Regions from separate parts of the Homo sapiens genome. Here all the other regions are linked to region 3. The links are contacts of gene promoters, found by promoter capture Hi-C in human tissues and cell types (Jung and others, 2019). All regions are on one chromosome and are shown on one strand. Each heading gives the region's core, a stretch centred on a gene start or on the middle of the fragment in contact. The rest is flanking DNA. Distances are from core to core; before and after follow the strand shown. Region 1 overlaps ZNF547 (zinc finger protein 547). Region 2 holds the start of ZNF264 (zinc finger protein 264). Region 3 holds the start of ZNF211 (zinc finger protein 211). Region 4 holds the start of ZNF135 (zinc finger protein 135). Region 5 holds the start of C19orf18 (chromosome 19 open reading frame 18).

The links. Contacts are between HindIII fragments. The study calls those that stand out against the background at their distance.
Region 1: a fragment that was not itself captured here is called in contact with the fragment with the promoter of ZNF211 in region 3 in 2 of the 25 tissues and cell types used here (heart left ventricle and spleen).
Region 2: the fragment with the promoter of ZNF264 here is called in contact with the fragment with the promoter of ZNF211 in region 3 in 1 of the 25 tissues and cell types used here (ovary).
Region 4: a contact is called between the fragment with the promoter of ZNF135 here and the fragment with the promoter of ZNF211 in region 3, in 2 of the 25 tissues and cell types used here (adrenal gland and small bowel).
Region 5: a contact is called between the fragment with the promoter of C19orf18 here and the fragment with the promoter of ZNF211 in region 3, in 2 of the 25 tissues and cell types used here (pancreas and psoas muscle).

Annotation. Positions count from the first base shown.
Region 1 is chr19:57,368,493-57,371,797 of GRCh38, reverse strand. It overlaps ZNF547 (zinc finger protein 547), which reads right to left. Exons shown (of 4, transcript NM_173631.4): 2 at 3,219-3,254; 3 at 1-16. The coding sequence starts at 3,242. Among named protein-coding and RNA genes, the nearest start is that of ZNF547, 6.6 kb to the right of the region's middle. The HindIII fragment of the contact is 8,803 bases long and covers 1-3,305 here.
Region 2 is chr19:57,189,902-57,192,947 of GRCh38, reverse strand. ZNF264 (zinc finger protein 264) reads right to left here and starts at 1,448. Exons shown (of 4, transcript NM_003417.5): 1 at 1,002-1,448. The coding sequence starts at 1,034. RefSeq lists a silencer at 933-1,202 and enhancers at 1,373-1,432, 1,443-1,532, 1,553-1,612. The HindIII fragment of the contact is 13,408 bases long and covers 1-3,046 here.
Region 3 is chr19:57,631,258-57,634,693 of GRCh38, reverse strand. It overlaps ZNF211 (zinc finger protein 211), which reads right to left and starts at 1,526. Exons shown (of 4, transcript NM_006385.5): 1 at 1,258-1,526; 2 at 633-671; 3 at 1-65. The coding sequence starts at 1,347. RefSeq lists a silencer at 1,207-1,276 and enhancers at 1,717-1,766, 1,837-1,926. The HindIII fragment of the contact is 12,794 bases long and covers 519-3,436 here.
Region 4 is chr19:58,057,691-58,061,226 of GRCh38, reverse strand. ZNF135 (zinc finger protein 135) reads right to left here and starts at 1,945. Exons shown (of 5, transcript NM_001289401.2): 1 at 1,917-1,945; 2 at 1,192-1,258. The coding sequence starts at 1,224. The HindIII fragment of the contact is 8,855 bases long and covers 1-3,536 here.
Region 5 is chr19:57,972,338-57,975,847 of GRCh38, reverse strand. It overlaps C19orf18 (chromosome 19 open reading frame 18), which reads left to right and starts at 1,314. Exons shown (of 6, transcript NM_152474.5): 1 at 1,314-1,536; 2 at 1,645-1,749; 3 at 3,344-3,385. The coding sequence starts at 1,416. The HindIII fragment of the contact is 10,862 bases long and covers 1-3,510 here.

The DNA of each region.
Region 1 (3,305 bases), core at 806-3,305, 260 kb after region 3:
CAAAAACCACATGACCCTGCCAAATTGGGAAAGATGAATACATGAGCAGCTTTTCAAACTGTATTTACTTAAGTTCTCTATTTATTTTCTACTTATATTTACCACCCATTAAACACAGGGACAAACTAACAGCTAAATGTGTTTCCATCTCCCCTACCATCCTGGGCACATATTCTTAACCATCTCCATCTCTAACTTTCTCAAACCAAGTCAGTATTTCCCATGCTCTAAATCAACCCAGGGACAGGTACTGCACAACTAGGGACAGTCCCAATAGCCCAGGTGTCCTGGAATTACTAAAACTAGCCAAACTATCCTGACAGCCAGCCCTGCCTTGTTTCCCTTGGAAACCCCAACAGCATCTGTGGACTAAACTAAACTCACTCCAATTTTCCTCCTGATCAAATCTGGTGTTTCACCGTGTGGCCCTGTGTTATGTGGTATGTAACCTCCTTAGGGAAACGTAAGGAATAAATATCTTCTTTCAGTGTCATTGGCCTGTCCCTGGCATCACTCACTCACATCCATAAATTAAAACTCCATGGGGGCCAGGCACAGTGGCTCATGCCTATAATCCCAGCACTTTGGGAGGCTGAGGCGGGCAGATCACCTGAGGTCAGGAGTTCAAGACCAGCCTGGCCAACACAGTGAAATCCCATCTCTACTAAAAATACAAAAATTAGGTGGGCATGGCGGCACATGCCTGTAGTCCTAGCTACTTGGGAGATTGAGGCAGAACTGCTTGAATCCAGGAGGTGCAGGTTGCAGTGAGCCAAGATCATGCCACTGCACTCCAGCCTGGGTGACAACACAGCAAGACTCCATCTAAAAAAAAAAAAACAAAAAACCCCAATGGGTACAATCACTGCTACTTTTCTCTCTCCAGGAACTCATCCCTCTCCCCTACACCTCCTTTCCTTCCTCAATCTCTACACCCTCCCAATGTGGAAGAGAAACCACATCCAGGTGGCATGAGTGACTTTTCTCTCCATATTGACATTGGCCACCGTGTCCAGCACACAGAGGAAACAGATGGAAGATAAGGTAGAAAAGGAATGTGGGCCTCCCGTGGGGGGATCCATCCTCTCCTGCCAGCCAGTTTCCATGGAGTCACCCAGATCTTGCCTCCCAAGACAACCAAACTCAGACTCATCCTCCTCCCTTGAGCTACCAGGGCCAGGGCCTGAGGCCCTCCATTCACACTCCTCCTGCCTGCACATCACTCTTTGGACAGCACTCCAATCCCATCTCTCACACCTCCACTCCAGTCAATTCCACAGACACCTCCCAGCCCACACCACAGGCATTTCCTTCACCTCCTAACAGGCCACTCTGCACACAGAAACCAGGTGGTGCACGGCAAATACGCTCAGCATCCAATTCACTCCCAGTCCTGCCCCAGAACACCAAAGTTCCCTAGCACCGGGGGCAGCCCTAAGCCCTGGGTTGAAGGTTCCCTACATGGCCCTGTTTCTCACTTCACTGTCAGGTGCCCAAACCATGTGAGGACTTCACATACTCTCAGCTGTGTCCTGCCTCATGGACACAGGATTGTAAGTTTCCTGAGGCCTCCGAGTTATGCTTCCTGTTAAGCCTGAAGAACTATGGGCTGGGTGCGGTGGCTCACGCCTGTAATCCCAACACTTTGGGAGGCTGAGGAGGATGGATCACGAGGTCAGGAGATCAAGACCATCCTGGCCAACATGGTGAAAGCCCATCTCTACTAAAAATACAAAAATTAGCTGGGCGTAGTGGGGTGAGTCTGTCGTCCCAGCTATTCAGGAGGCTGAGGCAGAAGAATCGCTTGAACCTGGCAGGGAGAGATTGCAGTGAGCCGAGATTGTGCCACTGCACTCCAGCCTGGGCCACATCTCAAAAAAAAAAAAAAAAAAAAAAAAGAACTGTGAGTCAATTAAACTTCTTTTCTTCATAAAGTACCCAGTCTCAGGTAGTTCTTTGTAGCAATATGAAAACAGACTAATAGAATTCCCATCCTCATCTCATTCCAACTGATGCTTAGCAACTCTCCGACCTCACCCTATTACCCTCCTCAGCAACCCCATCATGTCCACTCTCCTTCAGAAGTCTTTCTCACTCCTATACCCCACCATCTCACATACACTCATCCCCACAAACACTCCATTCCCTCATTTGTCTAGTGACTCCTCCACCACTGCACAGCTACCCAGTAAGAGACCCAGTTCTCATGCCCCATTCCAATTCTCTGTCTTCGAACAGCACTGCCACCATAACCTAGAGATGCTGTCACCTAAACTGAATCCATGGCTTCATCCTGGTCCATACGACAGCCACCATAGTGTGGACGTCTCCAACCTGAACTCCTCCACCAGGAGTCTCTGAGACATCTGTGGCTTGAACAAACACTGACTCCTCACACTCACTCTGAAAATTCCTAATACTGCTGACTTCTCCCATCTTAGCTGATGGAGCATCTATGCTTCCAAACAAAAACCATGGGGCCACTCCTGATTCCCCTTCTATCCCACCCCCCCAGCTGCCTCACTCTCTACATCATAAAATGTGGGCAGCTCCAGTTCAAAACACATCCTGAAGCCACCGCTACTCTTGACAAGTCACCACCAACATCCACCTAGACTGCTGCAGGAACATCCTCTCAGATCTCCCTGCCATTACCCTCACCTCCACAGTCTGTCCTCCACTCAGACGCCAAAGAAAGTTCCTTAAGCTAGGGTCCTATCACTGCCCTCTTCTGCTTCAAATCTTCCCCATCTACCACCTCCCTTAGATTAGAGACCCAGGACCTAGGCTGTCATTCCAGGCCTGATGTTTGTGTGTCTCTAGCCACCTCCCACTCTGCTCCCTATTCCTATCCGATATAACAGACACTTGCAGTTCCCTAAAAATCCAGTTCAGTCTCTCCTCTAAACACTGAAACATTCTTAATCTTGTGCCCATGACACTCTGACAGATGTTACCACGTCAACTGTCAAAAATGGGAGCCACTCCACATAATCCAGGGCCATCCAGGTAAGGTGTCACAGTAAACTTAAAACAATCAAACAAAAATCCCAGACCTAATTTAAGATACTAGAACTGGTGGAATCACTCACTTTTCAGACATAAGAGAGGGAGAAAGACAGAAAGAGAGTCTCTGGACACCACTTTTCTTTACATGGAGGTGCCAAAACCATCTATGAGATAACTGGTAGGTGAAAGGTAGAAAACACTCCACTCACCTGTGCAGGGTTCATTTCTGCCATCGCCAGGGGACCCTGAAGGAAGAGGGAAACCGTGAGAAATGGGCAACGATGGGAAGATCTTAC
Region 2 (3,046 bases), core at 199-2,698, 440 kb after region 3:
ACCAGCCTGGCAAATATGGTGAAACCCAGTCTCTACTAAAATACAAAAATCAGTCAGGTGTGGTAGTGCATGCCTGTAATCCCAACTACTCGGCAGGCTGGGGCAGGAGAATTGCTTGAACCTGGGAGGCAGAGACTGCAGTGAGCTGAGAGTGCACCACTGTACTCCAGCCTGGGCGACAGAGTGAGACCCTGTCTCAAAACAAAAAAAAGTATGTGAACACGGGCACAAAAAGCTCAGCATTCCTCACTGACCCCACAGAGCGGCACTGGAAGGGCTGCATCTACTTGGGGAACGACAGGCTCCAGACCAGCTTCCCATGCCCTCTGGGATCTCCCTGGGTCTCCCAGATCCCCCAAGGAAATTCCACAATGAACCAACCATCGGCCTCTTTCCTTACTGGGTTCCGACAGAACTTGTCTCTGACGCCAGGATACTTTGGGGCCACGGAACACGAGCGGCCAAGGATAATGCAGGCTGTAGCGATGAGAGTAAGGGCATCTGACTGGCCACAATGTCTGCAGTAGTTGCGGATGGCTAGAACATCCAGGAAAAGACCACACACTGTTGCCCTCCACGTCTCAGCGGCCGCAGGAAAACCATGGCAACCTTACACACCCTCCTGAGCCTCCTTAAACATACAACATACCTTGTCTCTGCTCGCGCATTTGTCGGCTTGCTACTGCCCTGCCCTCCCCTTCCCCCCTCAGGCCCCCAATTCATGCTGGAATGAGACCTGGTCCACCAGAGAATGCTTGCAGGCCAAGGATGATGGGAGTCCCCAGAGGAAGCATCATTCACTCAACAACCTACGGAGCTCCTTCCAGTAGGCCCAACACTCCTTACGGCCAGGTATAAATTAAGTGGCAAACCAGCTCCACACACCAAAGCGAACGACGACTGCGAAGACAAATCCAGGGGATACCTGGGCTCCCACCCACTTCGGAAACCGCCTCAGCGCTGGCAAGGAAGCGGCAACCGCGAAGCCACCGTCCACTCACCTGGGCCCGGTCCGTCAGCACCGCTGCCGCCATCACGTCACCCCCTGGGCCGCAGAGCTGGGACAGAGGAGCCCCGGGCGGCCTGACGGACCCCACCTGTGCCCGACCCTGGCCGGTTGCCCGGGGCTTCCAGGCGCGCTCGGGGCCGCCGCCTCCTCGGTGGCAACGGCGTTCCAGACGCAGGGCCGCCGCCTCCTCGGTGGCAACCGCGTTCCAGACCCAGGGCGCCGCCCCTGGAGACCGCGGGGCTGAAGGGCGGGGGAGGAGAGACCGCAGCTTGACGGCGACCCAGGAACAAACCCACGGAAGGGGTCAGGCTCGTACAAAGGTGCGGCGGGGATTCCTATCCTACTCCCCTGCTCGGTCCTGACTAGGGACCTGCAAAGCGGCCCCGACCGGGGCCCTCAGTGGCTACAGACCTCTCCAGACAGAAGTGCAGAAGAAAATGGCGTCCGCAGCGAGCAACCCGGAAGTCCCGCCCCCACCGGCGTGAGCCGTCGGAAACGTCCCCGTCCTAGGCCGTCGTTGGCCCAGCTCCCGCCGTACGCATAATGCACAGCCTTCTAAGTAGTGTAGTTTTCCTCATGTGTTCAACAACGGGAGGAACGCTTCACGGCGCAAGTTTTCCTCCCAGGGAAAGGCACTCCAGGACCCGAGGAGACGCTCCAGACCCACCTCTTTACGGTGGGCACAACTCGAGGGGAAGGATGGAGGGAGGGAACCGAGGGGCAAGGGTTACATTGCATTCTTCTCTCGGGAAAATCGGAGCTCGGGAGACAGGGACTTTCCTTCAGGTCAGGGCACAGGCAAAGGCGCAGAACTGGGTCCTCAGCTCGCCTGGCGACTGACCCCCTTTCACATCCCTCCTCCCCGGATCATCATCTTGGAAGACACAAAAAAGCCGAATGATCATCTGGAAGCCCTGCCCCGACACGTTGTGTGCGCAAACTGCCCTCTTTTGAGCCTTCTTTGGACCAGCACAGCCTCTACGTGATGCAGGGAGTCATGTATTTGGCCCAGACCACACAAAAAGTGGATTTGCCCACTTCTGAGGTGGGGAGGCTGCAAGTGGAGGAGGTTCGGAGGCTCAGGATGGTTAGTTTGAAATGTCTACAGAACCACAAAGTATCTCTGTCACAGGCAATTCGACTTACGACTGAATGTTGGAAGAAGGTTTGAGCATGAATATATGAATTTAGGAGTTACCTTACACTGTTATTTCAAGTCATGATATTGAGTGAGACCATCAAGGCAATGCATGTAGATGGAGAAGAAAATACACAGAGCATGAGCCGGGGACCAAGTCTACATCATTAAATGGTTGATGACAATATTACCAGAAAGGCCAGGTCCTTGCATCTAGATCCTGCTGCTTGCTGCACAGAAGGCCAGTCAGCAAGACAATGAGTATTGTCAGGGATGAAGGCTTTATTCGGTGCTGCAGCTGAGGAAAATGGGAGATCAATCTCAAATCTCTTTCCTCAACTGACTAAAACTAGGGGTTTATACATCAGGGAAGAAGTGTAACTATGTTTGAGAAAACAGGAATTAGGAAGGGGTAAGGAAGAGGAATGGGTCAACAGGCAGCAGATGGTCAGTTAGGCAATCATCATGGGTAAGGGGTATAGCATCTCGTTTTTCCAGATGTGGTAATCCAGTAAGTTTCAGTTTCTTTATACTATCTGGGAGGCCTGATGCTTGGTTTCCTGAGAAAGGAAATCAGATAAGACAAATAAAAGTGTCTCGAGTTTTAGGAAGGGGAGGCTCAATGTCTATAATGTGTTGATTCAAAAGAAACCATAAATATCAGTTCTATGGGACACTGGAGCTGGTTTCAGTTCCCTGTTTCTATTTATCAATTCCTCAATCATGGGGAATCTGGACGTGATCTTTCTGGCTGCTTTATGCTGAGGAGGGGTATTGTGGGTGGCTGCATACCATAGATGACCACGTGGCCACTCAGATTAACTCAAAGGTTAATCTAACGCTATAGTTTTCTTTCTTTCTTTCTTTTTTTTTTTTGAGACAGAGTTTTGTTCTTTCAC
Region 3 (3,436 bases), core at 277-2,776:
TCATCAAGGAGATCCCATTCCTCCCAGGAGAAGTACACGGCCACATCTTCAAAGGTCACACTTCCCTAGCATAATAGGGATTGATGAAACCATGAACAGTCTCAATTTGGAAGACTCAAAATCCATGTCCCCATACATTCTCCTCCCAAGATCCCCAAGTCAGAAGAGACACCAGACCTTGGTGTCATTGATCCCTGCTGTCTCTTCACATTCCCATTAGTCACTGTGTTCATTCTGTTTTCCACTCTGTATCCTGTCAACACTTGGGTTAGATAAATCTCCCTCCTCTGATCCCAAACTCCAACTTCCTCACAATAGATGCCAAACTTCACAGAAATAAAGGAAACCTGCAGTTCCCTGAACCAGCTCAGCCTCACCTCCAAGGAGTTCCAAAAGCTGGTACCTACCTGTTTCTATCATAAATTTTCACCCATCTTTCCATTGGCTGCTCCAAATGGAAACATTGGCCTGGACTCAGGGCCCTTAGCTCAGGGATTCTCCAGGGTTCCCAAACCAAACGCTGAGAGAATGGTAGGTGAGTCCCATGACACCACAAATCTAAAGAAAATATCTGTCTGGGGAGGGTGGAGGGACATTCCAGACCAGTGAGGGGCTGAGATACCTCCACTTACCTGTGTAAGTTTGAAAAGCACCTCTGTAGCTATGGGAACCTGTGGAAAGACGCAGGCCTCAGAGGAATGTGATCATGGCAGTGCTCCATGGGCACAGGCCTTCCCTGTACCCTTGCCCCGGCCCAGAGCCACGTAACTTTGGGTCGACTGTCTAACCTGTGCGCCTCGGTCCTTAGTGCTGCCTCTCACCAGTTGTGTGGCCTTGGAAAAATATTCAACCTCCCTCTGCCTCAACGTCCTCATCCATCTCTAAAGTCTTTTCTTCCACTGAACAGCCTGCAGAGGATTTTTCAAATTTAACTCAGATGGTGTCTCTCGTTTGCGCAAGCTCTCTATGGCTCCCACGGCCCTAAGAATAAAGGTAGATCTCTCTCAAACTTTGTTCCCTGCAGTAACAATGTGGAGCCCAGGTTCCTGAATGCCCCCTTCTCGGTTGCCCGTCCAAGCCCTGCACGCGCCGGTCCTGTCCCTTGTCCCCCTGCCCACCACATCGGATGTCAGAAATAGGGGCCCCACCCACGAGCCTCAGTGTCCCCGACCCTGTGCTACAGAGACGTGAGCTGGTGCCTCTCACTTGGGACTTAAGAATCTCGGCCGGGGGAGGCCCGGAGATCGCAGCGCTCACCGAAGCCGGGTCCCTCAGTGCGGTCGCCATCCGAGTCTGTGGGCGGAGCTGGACCGGGAGCTGCGGGCGACCCGGGGGGAACCCGAGCATCGCTATCCCCAGGCCGGCCTCGCGGGCGGCTCTGCCCCCGACCCTCAGACCTGACTCTCGCGCCTTCACGGTCCGTCACTTCGATCCCGATGCAGCGTACCAAAGCGGCTGACAGACAGAACGGACCTCCGGGAGGGCAGCCAAAATGACCGCTGCGAAGACGCCACAAGTCCCGCCCTGGGGGGGGCGGGGGTAGACCCACACGGAAATGCCCCTGTCTTGGATTTTCATTGGATCAAAGTACTGCCGCTCGACGCAAGGCTTTCTGGGTAATGTAGTCTCCCCCAGGCTGCGACGGAGGGCGCCTTGTGTGCAGACAGCTGGGAGCGCTAGGAAGCTGCGTCTGCTGCCTTCCAGGGCGACTGAGGGGCTTCGGTGTTTGAGGTCTTAAGTAGGTTGACACTTGAACAACACAGGTTTGAGCTGTGCGGGTCCATTTACACGTAGGCGTTTTTTTTCCCCAATAAACGTTACTTCGAGTGTGCTCCTTTTCCTGCCTCTTCCAGCTCCCCGACCTCTTGCCCCAGAGACAGCAAGACCTCATTCTCTTGCCCAGCATGAAGAACACAAGGATGAAGACCTTTATGATGATCCACTTCCACTTAATGATTAGTAAATGTATTTTCCCTTCCGTATTCTTTTATTTTCCTTTTTTTAATTGGGTGTAATGTCAACGAGCCTCTTACAATTTTCCTGATACCCTTTCTCTGGTCTGTTTTAGTACAAGTATAGTTCTTATACTAAAATATATATAATGCATATATCATACAAAATGCATATATCATATATATTATGCATATATCATGCATATATCATACAAAATGTGTTAATCGACTGGGAGTTTATGTAATTCATAAGGCTTCCGGGCAACTTCATAAGGCTTCCGGGCAACAGTTGGCTATTAGTAGTTAAGACCTAGGGGAGTCAAAAGTAATACAAGCATTTTCAATTCCGCAGGGGTCGGTATCCCTGACCCCTGCGTCGTTTAAGGGTCAGCTGTATATCAGTCTCTAGTGTAGAGGTTCACTTCAGTATTTAGACATCATTTCAGATTCCATGCAGCCCACCCCAGCAGATCTCCACTGGTAGTGGGAAGCGAAAAAACGTTATCTTATTGCTCTTCAAATGCATGCAGCCTGAAGTGTTAAAGTCACTTTTTGTAGGTTTTGTCAGGGACAAAAGACACCAGACAGGGCTACAATGGGAAGATAGTGGAGGGATAGTGGGCAGCCCTGAAGCCAACGGACAAGGGAAGTTCCCTGCTTCTGGTGCCCCCAGAAAACGCTCTCCTGCCTGCAAAGTCAGTTTTGTTCATAAAACATGAAGCTTTAATACATGAATGTTCATTTTCCTTGTATAATCAAAACATTTAATTTTTTTTTGAGACAGGGTCTCACTCTGTTGTCCAGGCTGGAGTACAGTGGAACAATCATAGCTCATTGCAGCCTCCACTTCCTGGGCTCAAGTGATCCTCCCACCTCAGCCTCTTGAGTAGCTGGCACTACAAGCACACCACCACACCCGGCTAGTTAAAAAAAAAATTATTGTAGGAATGGAGTCTCCCTATAGGGCCCAGGCTAGTCTCAAACTCCTAGGGCCATGCAATCTTCTTGCCTCAGCCTCCCAAACTGCTGAGATTACAAGCATGAGTCACCATGCCCAGACAAAAGTTTTTAATGCATAAAATATCAAATTATTATCATTATTTTAAACAGGGCCTCACTCCGTCGCCCAGAAAGTTTATATTATTTTAAGGTACATATATGCACATTGTTAAATGTACACATATACATTTTATATATATTAGATAGATCAAATTTTACGTTTCACAATAAAAATGATCCTTTAGGACAAATTAATACCAGTAAAATAAAATAAAATTAAAAGTTGTGAAATGATTTTATCAAATATATAATGTATTTGTTTACACATTTACTACAAAAATTTATAAGTGGAATGACTACTATTGTACATCTGGTTAGATCTCACAATGGGCTTGTCATTGTTTTTAGGAAAAAGGTTAGAGTTCTTGGCTGGGCCTATATTACAGAACCAACCATTACATATTGCTTCACCTCCTACCATGTAT
Region 4 (3,536 bases), core at 696-3,195, 430 kb before region 3:
ATGATTGCATCACTGCACTTCAGCCTAGGGGATAAACAAAGTTATAAAGCTAGTAGCAGAAGTCTAAAGACTGAATCTGGGTGGTTTTTTTTTTCCCCCGAGACGGAGTCTCGCTTTGTCGCCCAGGCTAGAGTGCAGTGGCATGATCTTGGCTCACTGCAAGCTCCGCCTCCTGGGTTCACGCCATTCTCCTGCCTCAGCCTCTCGAGTAGCTGGGACTACAGGCGCCCGCCACCCCCCCGGCTAATTTTTTTTTGTATTTTTAGTAGAGACGGGGTTTCACCGTGTTCGCCAGGATGGTCTCGATCTCCTGACCTCGTGATCCGCCCACCTCGGCCTCCCAAAGTGCTGGGATTACAGGTGCGAGCCACCGCGCCCGGCCAAATCTGGGTTTGTTTTTTAATTTTTTAGAGACAGGGTTCCACTGTCATTCAGGCTGGAGTGCAGTGGCACATCATGGCTCACTGCAGCCTCCAACTCCTGGGCTCAAGCAATCCTCCCCCATAGCTGGGATTACAGCTACAAGCCATCGCACCAGTCCCCTTGTACGGGTTTTCTGACATTCCTACAGGAGGCTGGTTTCTTCTGGTGGCTTATGGGTGGGGTTAATGTCATCATAAAAAGGCGAGTTCCGCCCCCTTGGCCTCCATGACGTCTGAGGAAGCGGCACTCGATGCGCCATCTTGGAGCGCAGAGCATGCTAAGGCCTTCAACTTCAGACTGCAGAGCCGGGGCACCTACAATTTTCTGACATCACCCAGCCTCAGGTATGCAATGACGGCCGCACAAACATAAAGCCCACTCAGACAGGGACCCGTGCCCGCTGACCTCCAGCGCGGCGTGGGCGGTCCTTTCAGAGGCAGGCTGTGGTTGGGGAGCTTGGCGCGGACTTTAGGAGGCCGGGTGTGCAGGTAGAGGCCGGACACGAGTAGAGGCTAGATGTGCAAATAGAGGCCGGGCACGAGTAGAGGCCGGGCACCAGTAGAGGCCAGGTGCGCGAGTAGAGGCCAGTTGTGCGAGTAGAGGCCGGGCACGAGTAGGGGCCGGGCACGCAAGTAGGGGCCGGGCACAAGGAGGAGGCTGAGCGCGAGTAGGGACGGGGTGCAAAGAGGAGGCCGGGCGTGAGAAGGCCGCGCGCGAGGAGGCCGGGCACGAGGTGGAGGACACGCGCAAGGAGGCCGAGATTCTCACCGGGTCTGTGGAGACGCGCACCCCAGGGGTCATGCCCTGGCTTCTGGCAGGAACGGCTGGCCCTGCTCTGTGGGAAAGGGGAGGTGAGCAGCTGGGGCAGGCAGAGGCGGTGCTCAGGTCCCCAAGCCGGGGAACTGCGCCAGAGCCTGGGGAGCTCCGCGGAGAGCCGTCCAGGGCCCCGCGTACCCGTTTAAGCGCCTGCTGTGTGTGGGGCGGCCCTCCGCTCGGAGAAGGGCAGCCTAGGGTTTTCCCGCCTGTCTGAGGGAAGCTGAAGGCCTGGCGGGTGCGGACACATATCTGCTGCGCAGACTCTGAGCCTTAACGCTACAGTGACAAGGGCCGGGTGGTTGCGGTCCCCTGGCCCTGGGCACTATGCCTCAGTTTCTCTCTTCCATCAACAAAGGTGGCGGCCCAGTGCCCGGTGTGGGGCAGAGGTGGGGCCAGGGGCGGGGCGCGCGTTCCCTCAGGGGCCGTCGGAGCAGCTCCTGTCCAGCTGGGCGTTGGGCCCCGCCCTCCTCTCAGACTAGGGATGCCCCGCAAAGCCTGCCCCCGCCAGCCCCGAAACGGCCTTCCCCAGGCCCCGGGCAGCAAAACGGACTCCACACAGACGCGCGCTGCTGGAAACTCGCCCCGCCAGGGCCTCAGGAAGATCCCCGGACCCCCCGCACCCGGCCCGGCCCGGCCCGGCCTGGCCTCCCCTCCCCCTCCTCGCCGGCCTAGCTCACCCTCCTGACTGCGAGACAAAGGCCGCGGCACCGGCAGCCGACACTGCGCCGGCGCGAGCCTAACTCCATTTCCCAGAGAGCCGCGCGCGCATTTCCGGCCGCCCTCCCCCACCTCGCTCTCGCCCTTGGCGTTCGTGAGCTCTCAGTGCTGCTGGAGCTGGAGTGACTGGGCCTGGTGAAACAGGGCGCGCGGGGTGCCTGGGCATCAACGCGGGATAAGTGCCGCTTGGAACGCCGTGAGCTCCCGGCGCGACCACACGGGCTTTCGTGTTGGAAACTCTACCGTCAGTTTTACTGCTGCAAACAAAGCAATGATTTTTTCAAAACACATACTTTCAACCAAAACATTCACCAAGATCGCACACACGGGAGTCTTTGCATTTTCCACACTGAGGCAGCCATGGAGACTTCACACTGTATTTATTACATGGTTATAAGGAACATCACGTGCAAGACACTAACAATTATGACGACTTTGGACATTGCTAGGTAATTGTCAAAATTGTGCATTTGAACAGCAGCAAAATATTCAAAGCTGGTGTGCCCTCGCTGACACGAAATGAATTGTCATTTTCTGAACATTCACCAAAGCCTGCCAGGCGCTAGGCCTAGGTTCAGCAGCACACAATAGTGAAGCCCCCATTCAAGCGGGCTTCGTTTCACCAGCGTACGTCACACGTCCGTGGAGCAGCGAGACCAGAGGAGCTGGGAAAGCCAGGGCTGAGCCTTGTGCTTTTGCCCTTTTAAGGGAGGACAGATTAATTCCAATCAGCCTGGGCTTGGGAGCTGTATTTGAAGCAGAGGAAAAGTTTTAAGACGGGCATTTTTTTTTCTTTGACTGAAACAACTCTGAAAACAGCAGAGAACACAATACGAATTCTCGTACCACACACAGACACTTGCAAAGATTTGGCTGGTTAACACACAAGTTAAGACTTTAAATTTCATAAGCCCTAAAACAGTGGCAATTATGAAGAGATATAATGGCTCAAAATCATAATGCACTGATGTAAACAAAGCAAAGGCAAGCTTCTTGGCTTTTAAGGGCGTCCTGTACATTCCAAGTACTGTAAAGCCCCACATTTGTGACCGTCGCACTGAAAGCCAGCCTGCTTTTCACTCTACAGCAGTAAAGAGGCTTTCCATTATACATAAAATGCCGTTTTTCAGTTCTCGAACTCACAAACCCAAATGCCACAAAACATCTTTTTGTGTATTTTTTCTTTCACAAAATGTATACTCTTGCCCCCCACCCCCACCCCCAACCGTTTCCTTTTACTGGATCAAAAGGTATGAACACACAACTCATGGTGAAGTCTTTTTCCCAAGCGGTCTGATAGTCCTGGTGAGAAGCTGTCAGTGGTGCCACACTGAGCCTGCTCAGCCCTGATGGTGGCCAGGCGGCCCTGCCCAGCTCCCTCAAACTTGCCCCTCTGTTTCCTCCCTCAGACCTTCTGATCCTCTGTTTTTCTCAGCCAGGTTTCTAAACCGTACATGCTTTTGCAGGGGCGGGCTCTTTCTACAGGGGCAAGTGCTGCTTGGCTCCAGCCAAGTGGGGTCGTGCGGACTGGCAAGCCCAGCGTCCCAGGTCTGGATTTCTCTAAAGAACCCAGAGATCAG
Region 5 (3,510 bases), core at 65-2,564, 340 kb before region 3:
TGGGTGAATCATGAGATCAGGAGTTCGAGACTGGCCTGGCCGCCAACATGGTGAAAGCCCATCTCTACTAAAAATACAAAAATTAGCTGGGTGTGGTGGCAGATGCCTGTAATCCCAGCGGTTCCAGAGGCTGAGGCAGGAGAATCGTTTGAACCCAGGAGGTGGAGGTTGCAGTGAGCCAAGATTGTGCCACTGCACTCCAGTGTGGGTGACAGGGCAAGACTCCATCTCAAAAAAAAAAAAAAAAAAAAAAAAGGGCCTCCTGTTGGTCAGGTCACATCACGAGTCAAAAGAAAGTCCCAGACTTCTGCTTCTTCCTGGAAGTATTCCCTTCCTCTCACCTATCATGCACAGCCTGGACAGTATTGATTTCAGTGGTCCCTAACATCCAGCACTCCCAGGTCCCCTCTGTCTCCCTCATACATGACATAGTTCATTGCCTTTTTTGAGCCCGTCTTCTATTCCTCCCATCTCTGAAGCCTAGGGCCCACTTTCAGTCATCAGGAGTCCCCCTTTACCTTCCTGCTGTGGGTCTCCCCTGTGCACATTGCCTCCCTTCTAAGGGTGACTGCTTTCCTTCCACTTTCTTTTCTTTCTTTCTTTGTGCAGTGGTACGATTTTGGCTCACTGCTACCTCTGCCTTCTGGGCTCAAGTGATCTTCCTGCCTCAGCCTCCCGAGTATCTGGGACTACAGGTACACGCCACCATGCCTGGCTAGTTTTTGTTTTTGTGTTTGTTGTTTTATTTTTTTGAGACAGAGTCTTGCTCTGTCGCCCAGGCTGGAGTGCAGTGGCATGATCTCAGCTCACTGCAACCTCCACCTCCTGGGTTCAAGTGATTCTCATGCCTCAGCCTCCCAAGTAGCTTGAACTACAGGTGTGCACCACCACGCCCAGCAAATTTTTGTATTTTTAGTAGAGATGGGCTTTCACTGTGTTGGCCAGGCTGGTCTTGAACTCCTGGCCTCAAGCGATCTGCCCACCTTGACCTCCTAAAGTGTTGGGATCATAGGCGTGAGCCACCGTGCCCATTCCTTTTTTCCTGAACATTTTCCAAGTGAGGTTGTTGGAAATCACGGATGGGGAACTATGCATGCGGAGGGCTGACTGTAATTGATTTCTTTCTGCCTCCTCACTAATCTGCACACTGCAGGCAGGGACCTGGTCTCATCATGCCTGCACCTCCAAGCACTGCCCTCTTACACTGTAGTCTCCCCATTGGTCAGCATGGTTCCATGAAGGAACTCCATTATCACAGCAAGGACTGACCTCACACTGGTGGCTCCAAGTCACTGCCCAAACATTCTGAAGGGAGTAGAACTTCTTGATTCCTCAGATAAATAGAGGACAGATGCTGGACTGTAGCTAAGTATTTCCTTTCATCTACGGGATAAAATACTGATAATTTGAGAGTGATGGACAAGGTTCAGAGTGGTTTCCTCATTTTGTTTTTGTTTTTAATGGAATGCCAACTTCATTTATGCTTGCCGTATGCAGATGGACTCCATCCCACTGGAAACATAACAGGCTTACCAGGTAGCTTCAACCACTGGTTTTATGTGACTCAGGGAGAATTGAAAAGCTGTTTCAGGGGAGATAAAAAGAAGGTAATTACATTTCACCGCAAAAAGTTTTCTTTTCAAGGCAGTAAACGGTCACAACCACCCAGAAACATCACCAAAGAGCCCAAAGTGTTCTTTCATAAAACCCAGTTGCCTGGGATTCAAGGGGCTGCCTCGAGATCCACGGGTGAGTCATTGAATTCCTCATTCAGTGGAGTGAGAATCGTAGCCTGGAGTCCTCTTATCTGCCATGTGAATGTGTACTGTGTGCTTGCTGGTAGAAAGGTCCATAAAATAGAGTATAATTAGATAAACATTTGCTTGGAAATTAGATCTTATGCTCTTCACTCTCTGTTAACTGCTTTCTCTTTAGGGATTGCCACTTTCTTCTCTTTTTCATTTCACTTTAATAAGCGCACACAAAAACCTTGATCCCATCCAGATTACACAGGTATGCCTGTCTGACTTGAATTTGGTGCACATTTGGCAGTAGAGCATGCAAGTCTAGACACAGAAGGTTTGTGAGTGTACAGAATTCTTTTTTTTCTTTTTTTTTTTTTTGAGACAGAGTCTTGCTCTGTCGCCCAGGCTGGAGTGCAGTGGCGCGATCTCGGCTCACTGCAAGCTCCACCTCCTGGGTTCACACCATTCTCCTGCCTCAGCCTCCCAAGTAGCTGGGACTACAGGCACCCGCCACCACGCCAAGCTAATTTTTTGTATTTTTAGTAGAGACAGGGTTTCACTGTGTTAGCCAGGATGGTCTTGATCTCCTGACCTCATGATCCGCCCGCCTCGGCCTCTCAAAGTGCTGGGATTACAGGCATGAGCCACCATGCCCAGCCGAGAATTCTTTATAAGCATTTTCTATGGTTCCCTTCTAATTTGAGTACTAGAGGATGTTTGTTTATCTTATAACAGCAAAACCAACCCCGACAATCTTTGAAGCTCAGCAACCCTTTGTGGAGATATATGATGCTTGTAAATAATCTCCATTCCATGCAAGGGAAATGCTGTCTGTGTGATACATTTGCATGTAATTTGTGTCCGAGGAAAGGACACTATTGTTGGTTCCCTGGCCTCTCTGCCTGGCTCTCTGATCCTTTTTTTTTTTTTTTTTTTTTTTTTTTTTTTTTTTTTTTTGAGACGGAGTCTCACTCTGTCACCCAGCTGGAGTGCAGTGGCGCAATCTCGGCTCACCACAACCTCCACCGCCGGGTTCAAGCAATTCTCCTGCCTCAGCCTCCTGAGTAGCTGGGACTACAGGCGCGTGCCACCATGCCCAGCTAATTTTTGTATTTTCAGTAGAGACGGGGTTTCACCATGTTGGTCAGGCTGGTCTCGAACTCCTGACCTCGTGATCTGCCTTCCTCGCTGGGATTACAGGCATGAGCCACTGTGCCCAACCCTTGCTGACCTTCTAATGAGGTCGTAGCCCCTTCAACTCTAAGTCTCTCCAGGTCCTTAATTTGGGCAGAGATTTCCCAACTTGTATGACTGCAAAAGGAGACCAGAAACCAAAAGTATCCTGTTCCTAAAGGTCATTCTTCATGACAGGAAGCACCAGGTGCAAAAAGAACAGCAGGCTCACCAGGCTTCTGCAAATTAACCCACACATTGCTGCCAGGCATTGGGAGGAATGTATTAACACATCCCATCTTAGATATTTGGAAGCTGTGTGTTCGGCGTCCTTCTCTAATGCTAAGTTATTTCCTTGTTTTCCCAAGTTCATCTTAAACCATCTTAAAGTCTCTTCTTTTTGATCCCCTTTGATGGCCTTTTAGCTGCATCCCCTACGAACCCCATGAAATTCCTGAGGAATAAAGGTAAGCCAAGGGATCTGGGAGGGCGGGTGGACCCGCAACATTCCTGAAGCTGTCGTGATGTGTGGCTCCAGAGGGTGCTGGCTGGTCACCAAGGAGCCTGCACACGTGGTGCCTTCATGTGTGTT